3 separate regions of the Homo sapiens genome follow, and regions 1 and 3 are each linked to region 2. Evidence: promoter capture Hi-C in 16 types of primary human blood cells and fetal thymus (Javierre and others, 2016). All regions are on one chromosome and are shown on one strand. Each heading gives the region's core, a stretch centred on a gene start or on the middle of the fragment in contact. The rest is flanking DNA. Distances are from core to core; before and after follow the strand shown. Region 1 overlaps SKIL (SKI like proto-oncogene). Region 2 holds the start of LRRC31 (leucine rich repeat containing 31). Region 3 has its middle 13 kb from the start of CLDN11.

Evidence for each region. Contacts are between HindIII fragments. The CHiCAGO score rates a contact against its expected background, and 5 or more counts as called.
Region 1: a fragment that was not itself captured here is called in contact with the fragment with the promoter of LRRC31 in region 2 in 3 of 17 cell types (neutrophils, naive B cells and total B cells); the score reaches 6.7 in neutrophils.
Region 3: a contact is called between a fragment that was not itself captured here and the fragment with the promoter of LRRC31 in region 2, in 1 of 17 cell types (neutrophils). The highest score is 6.9, in neutrophils.

The regions. Positions count from the first base shown.
Region 1 is chr3:170,384,542-170,387,781 of GRCh38, reverse strand. SKIL (SKI like proto-oncogene) reads right to left here. Exons shown (of 7, transcript NM_005414.5): 4 at 3,017-3,240. Among named protein-coding and RNA genes, the nearest start is that of SKIL, 28 kb to the right of the region's middle. RefSeq lists a silencer at 3,065-3,240. The HindIII fragment of the contact is 1,974 bases long and covers 323-2,296 here.
Region 2 is chr3:169,868,376-169,871,933 of GRCh38, reverse strand. LRRC31 (leucine rich repeat containing 31) reads left to right here and starts at 1,999. Exons shown (of 9, transcript NM_024727.4): 1 at 1,999-2,301. The coding sequence starts at 2,127. The HindIII fragment of the contact is 9,706 bases long and covers 1-3,558 here.
Region 3 is chr3:170,403,877-170,407,568 of GRCh38, reverse strand. No RefSeq gene overlaps it. Among named protein-coding and RNA genes, the nearest start is that of CLDN11, 13 kb to the left of the region's middle. The HindIII fragment of the contact is 3,286 bases long and covers 631-3,692 here.

The DNA.
Region 1 (3,240 bases), core at 60-2,559, 520 kb before region 2:
TTTTGTATTTTTTTTTTTTTTTAGTAGAGACGGGGTTTCACCGTTTTAGCCGGGATGGTCTCGATCTCCTGACCTCGTGATCCGCCCGCCTCGGCCTCCCAAAGTGCTGGGATTACAGGCGTGAGCCACCGCGCCCGGCCTATAGCAGCATTATTCTTAATTGCCAAAAAGTAGACCCAATGCAAATGTCCGACTGACGAAGGAATAAAAAAAATGTGGTATATTCACATAATGGAATCTTATCAGGCCATAAAAAGAAGTACTGGTACATGCAACAACATGGACTGTGAAAACATTATCTTTCATGAAAGAAGCATAAGCTTCTTGACCAGACATGAAAAGCCACATATTGTACAATTCCTTTTATATGAAATGTCCAGAATAAGCAAATCCATAAAGATAGAAAATAGATTAGTGGTTGCCAGAGGCTTCGAGAAAGGGAGAATCAGGGAGTGACTCCTAATGGATTATAGGGTTAATTTTTGGAGTGATGAAAACATTATGGGCCGAGGCGGGTGGATCACCTAAGGTCAGGAGTTCAAGATCAGCCTGACTAACATGGCGAAAACCCTGTCTCTTACTAATAATACAAAAAAATTAGCCAGGCGTGGTGACACACGCCTGTAATCCCAGCTACTCAGGAGGCTGAGGCAGGAGAATCGCTTGAACCCGGGAGGCAGAGCTTGCAGTGAGCCGAAATCACCCCACTGCACTCTAGCCTGGGCGACAAGAGTGAAACTCCATCTTAAAAAAAAAGAAAGAAAAGAAAACATTATGGAACTAAATTAGCTGTGATGGTTGCACAACTTTGTGAATGTATTAAAAACCACTGAATTGTAGGCTTTAAAAGGGTAAATTTTATGGTATATAAATTATCTCAATAATTTTTTAGAAGTCATTAGAATTAATTTAAGAAATAAAATACAATGTAAATATGGCATAATAGTCATTACTAATTTTTGTTTACCATATTTAAATCTGAAGAAAACTGAGTTTTAAAAATCTCAAAATTGGCCAGGCATGGTGGCTCACATCTGTAATCCCAATGCTTTAGGAGGCCAAGGCAGGAGGATCACTTGAGGCTAAGAGCTTAATGCCAGCCTGGGCAATACAGTGAGACCCTGTCTCTACAAAAAAAATGAAAAAATGAGGCAGGCGCAGTGGCACATGCCTGTAGTCCTAGCTACTAGGGAGGCTGAGGTGCAAGGACTATGAGCCCAGCAATTTGAAGCTGCGGTGAGCTATGAATGCATCACTGTACTCCACCAGCCTAGAGCAACAGAGTGAGACTCTGTCTCTAAAAAAGAAAAACGAAACAAAAAACCCTCAAAATAAATGTATAGAAAACCCCTGGCCGGGCGCGATGGCTCACGCCTGTAATCCCAGCACTTTGGGAGGCCGAGGCAGGCGGATCACCTGAGGTCAGGAGTTCGAGACCAGACTGACCAACATGGAAAAACCCCGTGTCTACTAAAAATACAAAATTAGCCGGGCGTGGTGGTGCATGCCTATAATCCCAGCTGCTCAGGAGGCTGAGGCAGGAGAATCACTTGAACCTGGGAGGCGGAGATTGCAGTGAGCCGAGATCACACCGTTGCACTCTAGCCTGGGCAACAAATACGAAACTCTGTCTCCAAACAAACAAACAAACAAACAAAAAAACCAGAAAACCCCCACCCAAGAATCAGCCAGGCGTGGTGGCTCACGCCTGGAATCCCAGCACTTTGGTTGGGAGGCCGAGGCAGGCGGATCACCTGAGGTCAGGAGTTCAAGACCAGCCTGACCAACATGGAGAAAACCCGTCTCTACTAAAAATACAAAATTAGCGGGGTGTGGTGGTGCATGCCTGTAATCTCAGCTACTCAGGAGGCTGAGGCAGGAGAATCTGGGAGGTGGAGGTTGCGGTGAGCTGAGATCTCACCATTTTACTCCAGCCTGGGCAACAAGAGTGAAACTCCTCAAAAAAAAAAAAGAAAAAAAAGAAAGAAAGAAAGAAAAGAAAACCCCCAAGAATCTCAATTCTCTATAAAAACTTAAATAAATAGAGGACCCTCCAACTGTTCCAATGCAGCTAAAGTAACTGTCACACTGCCTAATCACTAAGCAAAGCTGTGCTGCTATATGGATGGTAACACAGGCAATATCTGCAGACATGTCTCATTTAATCCACAGTATTTTAAAAGGCACGGTAAGTAACCAGCTATTTTTCTTTTAAATGACCAGTCAATATTCCACATTTATGCTATATGCCTGGCCCCCAGAGCTTTCAATCCTTGCTTTATTCCATAACTAAGCTTCCTTGAGTTCTATACCTAACTACTCTTACTTACATAATACTTCTTATTATTAAATGGTGTCTCAGTTCATGGCAAATCAGAAAGAAAAATAAAGGTTGGGTGCGGTGGCTCACAACTGTAATCCCAACACTTTGAGAGGCCAAGGCAGGAGGATCACTTGAGCCCAGGAGTTCGAGACCAGCTTGAGCAACATACCAAGACCATCTCTACAAAAAAAAAAAAAAAAATTTTTTTTTTTAATTAGCCAGGCACAGTGGTGTGCGCCTCTGGTCCCAGCTACTAGGGAGGGTGAGGTGGGAGGATCACTTGAGCCCAAAGGTTGAGGCTGCAGTGACCGCAATCTCACCACTGCACTTCAGCCTAGGCGATAAAGACTCTGTCACAAAAAAAGAAAAAAAAAGGAGGAAAGAAAAACAAGGATCTCCTGAAGACTGACAGCAAATAAAAGGTAGGAAAGGAAAAAAATTCGGACAAAAATAACTTGCAGTCTGAGGCCAGGTAGCCTGTATCTATCTCAGTCTCCTGAGCTATCACCACGCTAGAAAAGTATAGCAACTGAGATTAAAATAAATCACCCAGAGTTTTGAAGGGTAGCATTTTTAAAGGTAAAAGCTCCAATTATCTGAAAATTTAGCTCAAACAAAAAGCCTGTTTGAAAATGCTCAATAAATGTGTTCATTAGATATTTAATTTTAGAAAGATAATCTCTGAATACTTACCTAAACGGCTACATAATTCTCTACTTGTTTTTAAATCCATTTTCTCCTGTTCCTCAAGTGAGACATCTGGATAAGACACTGTTTTTTGAAGTTTACCACTACTGTGAGCCTTCTCTGACTGTCTTGATATGGACTTACTTGCCTCTGTCTTTGTGAGCTCTTTAGACTGGGATACAGCAGAAGTAAGTGACACATTTGGGGCAACCACTTTATCACACATGTAT
Region 2 (3,558 bases), core at 750-3,249:
TAACTACTATACATGAAGAAATGTGCAAATGCTTCCCCCTTTTCATTCAAAAGCCTTCCTTCCTCTGGCATGGTCCTTTCTTGTTGCCTTATTAGCCTCCTGGTTGCTTTCTATTCTCCTGTTCCTTTCCTCTCCTTCACATCCTCTTCTGTTCCTTGGTTCTTGTGTTTCTTGGCTTCCTGGCTCCCCTGTTCCTTAGTGTACTGATCTTCACAGAGAACTGGCTGGGCCTCAGAAGCTGGGTGTGGTTTCACCTGGGTAAATTACCACATCCTGGAGCACCCTCCAGCACTGTTTTCTTAGGACTTGGGGAGTTGGAGTCAGTGCATTTGGGGGGAGGATAAAAAAGTGAAACCATTTACTGAGCTAGCTCCCCAGAGAATAGCCCTGTCTAAATCTCCAAATGGTGAAATTGGCTGAAAATGACCATGGAGGTGTCCTGGGTGGGGGGCCAGAAGAGTAGCAAATTGAGAAAGGCCTGGGGTGATGGTGGAATCAGGGTGAGGCAGCCAGGGCTGCAGGTCATGTTTAGATTTATGAGTTAGCGCCCCTTTCCTTCTTCTTTTCCACCTAACCCCCTGAGACTCTAGTCAGCTGTGCTGCTGTGCATGGAGTAATTGTTTAGTTCCACTGCTGTCTGTTGCTGGGTAAACCAGGGCTGGGCCCTGCTCTAATATGAAAGGAAGATTTTAAAAGAAAAATGGAATGTCCAATTGTGACTTCCAAAGCAGTGCTCCAAGTGCATGGAACATTCCAGCCCTCACGAGTGGAGGTGGGCTCTGCAAGGTCCATTTTTAGGATTCCCTGTGTAAAATGTTTCTTGGACCATTCTGGAACATAATGTTACAGAAAGAGCTATTTTATTAGAGAGGAGACTATGAAAACTGTAATTTCAAGAATACTTCTGCTGGGCATGATGGTTCACACCTTTAAGCCCAGCACTTTGGGAGGTCGAGGTGGGCGGATCACTTGAGGCCAGAAATTCAAGACGAGCCTGGCCAACATGGTGAAAATCCATCTCTATGTCAAAACAAAACAAAACACTTCTGTGTATCCCTTTAGTTTAAGTCCTTAGCCCTCCCATAAAATATAAGCAAATTTCAGGAGAGATAATAGATTGACCTTTACGAATCCTTTTTAGCTTCAATTCATACCAGACCTCACCCCTAACCTCCACACCCCCTGACCCACATCCCCACCTCCAATGCTAGGCTCTTCCAGCCGTTCCTGCCTGGGAGCTCTTGAGCTTACCCTTTCTTCTGCCTGGGATACTCTTCCCTCTCTTAAAAAGCTAACTCGCAGTCCTTCAAAACCCAGGCAATGTCACTCACTGTTCCAAGTCTGTTCTCCAAGGCATGCTTAGTTTACTGTGGGTTCCCTGACCACCTCCCATCTCTTGGCTCTTGTCCCACTCAATCAATGGCATACAGGTCCATCTTCCCACCAGGTTAAGATCCCATCAAAGACAAGAACTGTCTCTTGTTCGTCATTGAATCTTTTGCATTTAGAACATTAACTGGCCCACAGTAGATTCTTTAAAACTATTTATGGAATGAATGAATTCTTTACTGCCAACATGTTTCAGTGGGGTGGTGGTGCAGGGTTGGGGGTAGAGAAAATATGAATATGCAAAGAGAAAAAGGAGCTTATGTGCAAAGGAAGGAGGTGGGGGTCACCAGAAGGCAGAGGTCGCTGAAGGCAAACTCCTCTGGGGACAGCTTTGCAAATGGCCAGTCCCTTTTAAAGGCATATTAAGTCTTCAGGTAACTAATTGACAGCTGTAATTTAAGATGTGTTGACACACTTGATGTGCTTGCCAAAGTCATGCTTAATGACTTGTATCTCACACAATGAAATAGGGCAAAGTTAAAAACTCAAATTGCTTTGAGTTTGTATTGGCTTCTGGATCCTGGGTTACATCATTCTTATTTTCATGTTAAACATTAACAGCAATAAAAAAACAGAAAAAGAAAGGTGGTGCGGCAGGGAGTGGGGGGCAGTCATGTAGGGGAGGATATTTTGATTGAACACAGGCTTGACAGAATCTTCTTTTCTTCTTAGAAATCCTAGAAAACAGAAAGCAACAGGAAGATGTCTTATTGGGAACTACCCCCATCAACTTCACCATGAGTCAAACAAGGAAGAAAACTTCCTCAGAAGGAGAAACTAAGCCCCAGACTTCAACTGTCAACAAATTTCTCAGGGGCTCCAATGCTGAAAGCAGAAAAGAGGACAATGACCTTAAAACAAGTGATTCCCAACCCAGCGACTGGATACAGAAGACAGCCACCTCAGAGACTGGTAAGCTGCTGGCTGCTGGTGTTTTTGCTGTTGTATTTGTTTTGTTTTTACTTCCACATTTAAAATATTTTTATTTTTAATTTTTGTGGGTACATAGTAGGTGTATATATTTATGGGGTATATGAGATGTTTCAATACAGGCATGCAATGCCTAATAATCATATTGTGGAGAATGGGGTATCCATCCCCTCAAGCATTTATCCTTTGTGTTACAAACAATCCCATTATACCTTTAGTTTTATTTATTTATTTATTTATTTTGAGACAGAGTTTCACTCTTGTCACCCAGGCTGGAGTGCAATGGCGTGATCTCAGCTCATAGTAACCTCTGCCTCCCGGGTTCAAGCGATTCTCCTGCCTCAGCCTCCCGAGTAGCTGGGATTACAGATGCGCACCACCATGCCCAGCTAATTTTTGTGTTTTTAGTAGAGATGGGGTTTCACTGCATTGGCCAGGGTGGTCTCGAATTCCTGACCTCAGGTGATTTTCCTGCCTTGGCCTCCCAAACTGCTGGGATTACAGGTGTAAGCCATCACACCAGGCCTCTTTTAGTTATTTTTAAATGTGCAATAAATTATTGCACATTTAAAAATAACTAAAAGAGCACAACGGGTTGTTTGTAAACAAAGGATAAATATAGTCACCCTGTTGTGCTATCAAACAGTAGATCTTATATATTCTATTTTTTCTGTACCCATTAACCATCCACACCTCCCCCACCAACAACACACACACCCTTCCCAGCCTCTATGTTTCTTTATTTTTTAGAGTTTTCTTCTAAAGTGATCTTATGGGTTAAACTAAAGACTTTAAGACTTTTGAGACTAAAGACTCAACTATGAGTCTCTGTGCTAATCATTTATTATGTTACTTACATGCTTTAAATGATTCATAATTTTACTTTTAAATTGTTAAAAGCAATATAACACTACAGAAAAATGTAGGGAAAATACTGAATTTCCTTTCATTATAACACAAACGATCATTTCTTTAAGATTCTTTTCAGTCTTTTCTTTTCATATGCATGCATTTATGTTCTGTCAGTCAGCAGTCAATAAATCTTTATTGAGTGCTTGCTATGTAGTAACCCCTGCTCTAAGTGTTAGAAATACAGCCATGAAAAGGACCAAATGCAGATATAACTTCAGGTGGTGATAAGTGATATGAAGAAAAATAATGCAGGCTAAGGAGACAAAGAATGATGGGATGGGGTGCTATTTAGATGGGGGTGGAGGAAAGAAGTCTTCGATTTGGAGG
Region 3 (3,692 bases), core at 1,024-3,523, 540 kb before region 2:
TGAGTAGTGATATTTTGAAAGAAACATTGTTTTCTGAGCAGTAAGTCTCAACACTGGGCCTAAAATATTTTGTAAATCATGCTGTAAACAGATGTGCTGTCATCCAGGCTTTGTTGTAGCATTATAGAGCACAGGCACAGTAGATTTAGCATAGTTCTCAAGGATCCCGGGATTTTCAGAATGGTAAATAAGCATTGACTTCAACATAAAGTCAGCAGCTGCATTCGCCCCTAAAGGGAGTCAGGCTCTCTTTTGAAGCTTTGAAACCAGGCATTGACTTCTCTCTAGCAATAAAAGTCCTAGATGGCATCTTCTTCTTCAGATAAGATAAGGTTGTTTCATCTATATTGAAAATCGGTTGTTTGGTATAGTCAACTTTATCAATGATCATAGCTGGATCTTCTGGATAACTTGCTGCAGTTTCTGCATAGGTACTTACTGTTTCACCTTGCACTTTTATATTATGGAGATGGATTCTTTCCTTAAACCTTTGTGTGTTCACTAGAGTTGTACTTTTAATTTCCTTCAAAAACTTTTCGTTTGCATTCACAGCTTGGCTAACTGTTTGGCACAAGAGGCCCAGCTTTCAGCGTATCATGCCATGTTGCAACATTCCTTCCTCACTAAGCTTAACCATTTTTAAGTTTTTATTTAAAATAAGAGAGTTATATATTTTATTATTTATTTTTTTTAATTTTTTTATTTTTTGAGATGGAGTCTCACTCTGTCACCCAGGCTGGAGTGCAATGACGCAATCTCAGCTCACTGCAACCTCCACCTCCCAGGTTCAAATGATTCTCCTGCCTCAGCCTCCTAAGTAGCTGGGTTTACAGGCACGCGCCACCATACCCGGCTAATTTTTGTGCAAAATGGCAGTAGTAAGTCTTTACCTGTCAATAATTACCTTGAATGTAAAGGATTTAAATTCCTCAATCAAAAGGCCTAGGGTAGTAAGGTGGGCTAGGTGTGGTGGCTCATGTCTGTAATCCCAGCACTTTGGAAGGCAGAGGCAGGTGGATTGCTTGAGTTCAGGAGTTCAAGACCAGCCTAGCCAACATGGTGAAACCCAATTTTTACTAAAAATACATGCTAGGCACAGTGGCTCATGCCTGTAATCCCAGCACTTTGGGAGGCCAAGGCAGGCCGATGATTTGAGGTCAGAGTTCTAGACCAGCCTAGCCAACATGGTGAAACCCCACCCCTGCTAAAAATGCAAAAATTAGCCAGGTGTGGTGGCACACACCTGTAGTCCCAGCTACTCAGGAGGCTGAGGCAGGAAAATTGCTTGAACCTGGGAGGCGGAGGTTGTACTGAGCCGAGATGGCACCACTGCACTCCAGCCTAGGCAACAGAGCAAGATTCCATCTCAAAAAAAAAAAAAAAATTAACTATCTTTTCTGACCACAATGGTATGGAACTAGAAATAAATAATAGGAGGAATTTTGGAAAATTCTCGAATATGTGGAAATTAAACAACATGCTCCTGAACAACTGATGGGTCAAAGAAGAAATTAAAAGGAAAATTTTAAAAAATCTTGAGACAAATGAAAACGGAAATAAAATATACCAAGACTTACGGAATACAGCAAAAGCTGTCCTGAAATGGAAGTATATAGCAATAAACTACTACATTAAAAGGAAAGATTCCCCAAAAATCAACCTAATGTTACACCTTAGGGAACTAGAAAAAGAAAAAACTAAGTCCAAAGTCAGTAGAAGAAGGGAAATAATAAAGATAAGACCAGAAATAAATGAAATAGAGACTAGAAAAACAATGCAAAATATCTGTGAAACTCAGAGTTCTTTTTTTAAAAAGATAAAATTGACAAAACCTTAGATGAAGAAAAGAGAGAAAGCTGAAATAAAATAAAGAGATATTACCATTGATATAACATAAACGCAAAGGATGATATAAGACTACTATGAGCAAGTATTGAGTAGTTAAGTAGTACCCAACAAATTGTATAACCTAGAGGAAATGGATAAATTCCTAGACACCTGCAACCTACCAAGATGAAATAAGCAAGAAAATTTGACATACCAATAACAAGTAGAGACTGAATCTTTTAAAAAACAAACAAACAAAAAGTCTCCCACCAAAGAAAAGCCCAGGACCTGATGGCTTCACTGCTGAATTCTTCCCAATATTAAAAAAACTAATACAGGTCAGGCATGGTGGCTCATGTTTGAAATTCCAGCACTTTGGGAGGCTGAGATGGGAGGATTCCTTGAGGCCAGGAGTTTGAGACAAGCCAGGGAAACATAGCAAGACTTTGTCTCTACAAGAAAAATTTTAAAAATTAGACAGTTGTGATGGCACATTTCTGTGGTCCCAGCTACTCAGGAGGCTGAAGTGGGAGAACTGCTTGAGCCCAGGAGTTTGAGGTTACAATGAGCCATGATTGTGCCATTATACACCAGCCTGGGCAACAGAGAAAAACCCTGTCTCAAAAAATAAAAAATAAAGAACTAATAAGGCCGGGCGGGGTGGCTCATGCCTGTAATCCCAACACTTTGGGAGGCCGAGGTGGGGGGATCACCTGAGGTCAGGAGTTCAAGACCAGCCTGGCCAGCGTGGTGAAACCCCATCTCTACTAAAAATACAAAAATTAGCCAGTATGGTGGCAGGTGCTTGTAATTCCAGCTACTTGGGAGGCTGAGGCAGGAGAATTGCTTGAACCCAGGAGGTGGAGCTTGCAGTGAGCCGAGATCATGCCACTGCACTCTAGCCTGGGCAACAGAGTAAAACTCTGTCTCAAAAAAAAAAAAAAAGGGAGAGAGAGAGAACTAATATCAGTTCTTCTCAAACTCTTCCAAAAAAAAAAATTAAAGAAGGAAAACTTCCACACTCATTGTATGAGACCAGTATTACCCTCATTACCCTGATACCAAAAGCAGAGGACACTACAAGAAAAGAAAATCACAGGCCAATATCTCTAATGAACATTGATGTAAAAATCCTCAACAAGGCTGGGTGCAGTGACTCATGCCTGTAATCCCAGCACTTTGGAATGCCAAGGTGGGCAGATCACTTGAGGCCAGGAGTTCGAGACCAGCCTGGCCAACATGGTGAAACCCTATCTCTACTAAAAATACTAAAATTAGCCGGGCACGGTGGCTCACGTCTGTAATCCCAGCACTTTGGGAGGCTGAGGCAGGTGGGTCACCTGAGGTCAGGAGTTTGAGACCAGGCTGGCCAACATGGCGAAACCCCATCTCTACTAAAAATACAAAAAAAAAAAAATTATCTGGGTGTGGTGGCAGGCGCCTGTAATCCCAGCTACTTAGGAGGCTGAGACAGGAGAATTGCTTGAACCCGGAAAGCAGCGGTTGCAGTGAGCCAAGATCACGCCATTGCACTCCAACCTGGGCCATGGAGCAAGACTCTGTCTCAAAAAAAAAAAAAAAAAAAAAAAAAAAAAATTAGCCGGGTGTGGTGATCCACCCCTATTATCCCAGCTCCTCGGGAGGCTGAGGCATAAGACTCGCTTGAACCTGGGAGGTAGAGCTTGCAGTGAGCTGAGATCATGCCACTACACTCCAGCCCAAGTGACAAAGTGAGACTCTGTCTAATAAATAAATAAATAAATAAATAGATCCTCAACAAAATACTAGCAAACCAAATTCAACAACACATTGAAAGGATCATTCACCATGAATAAGTGGGATTTATCCCTGGGTTGTAAGGATGA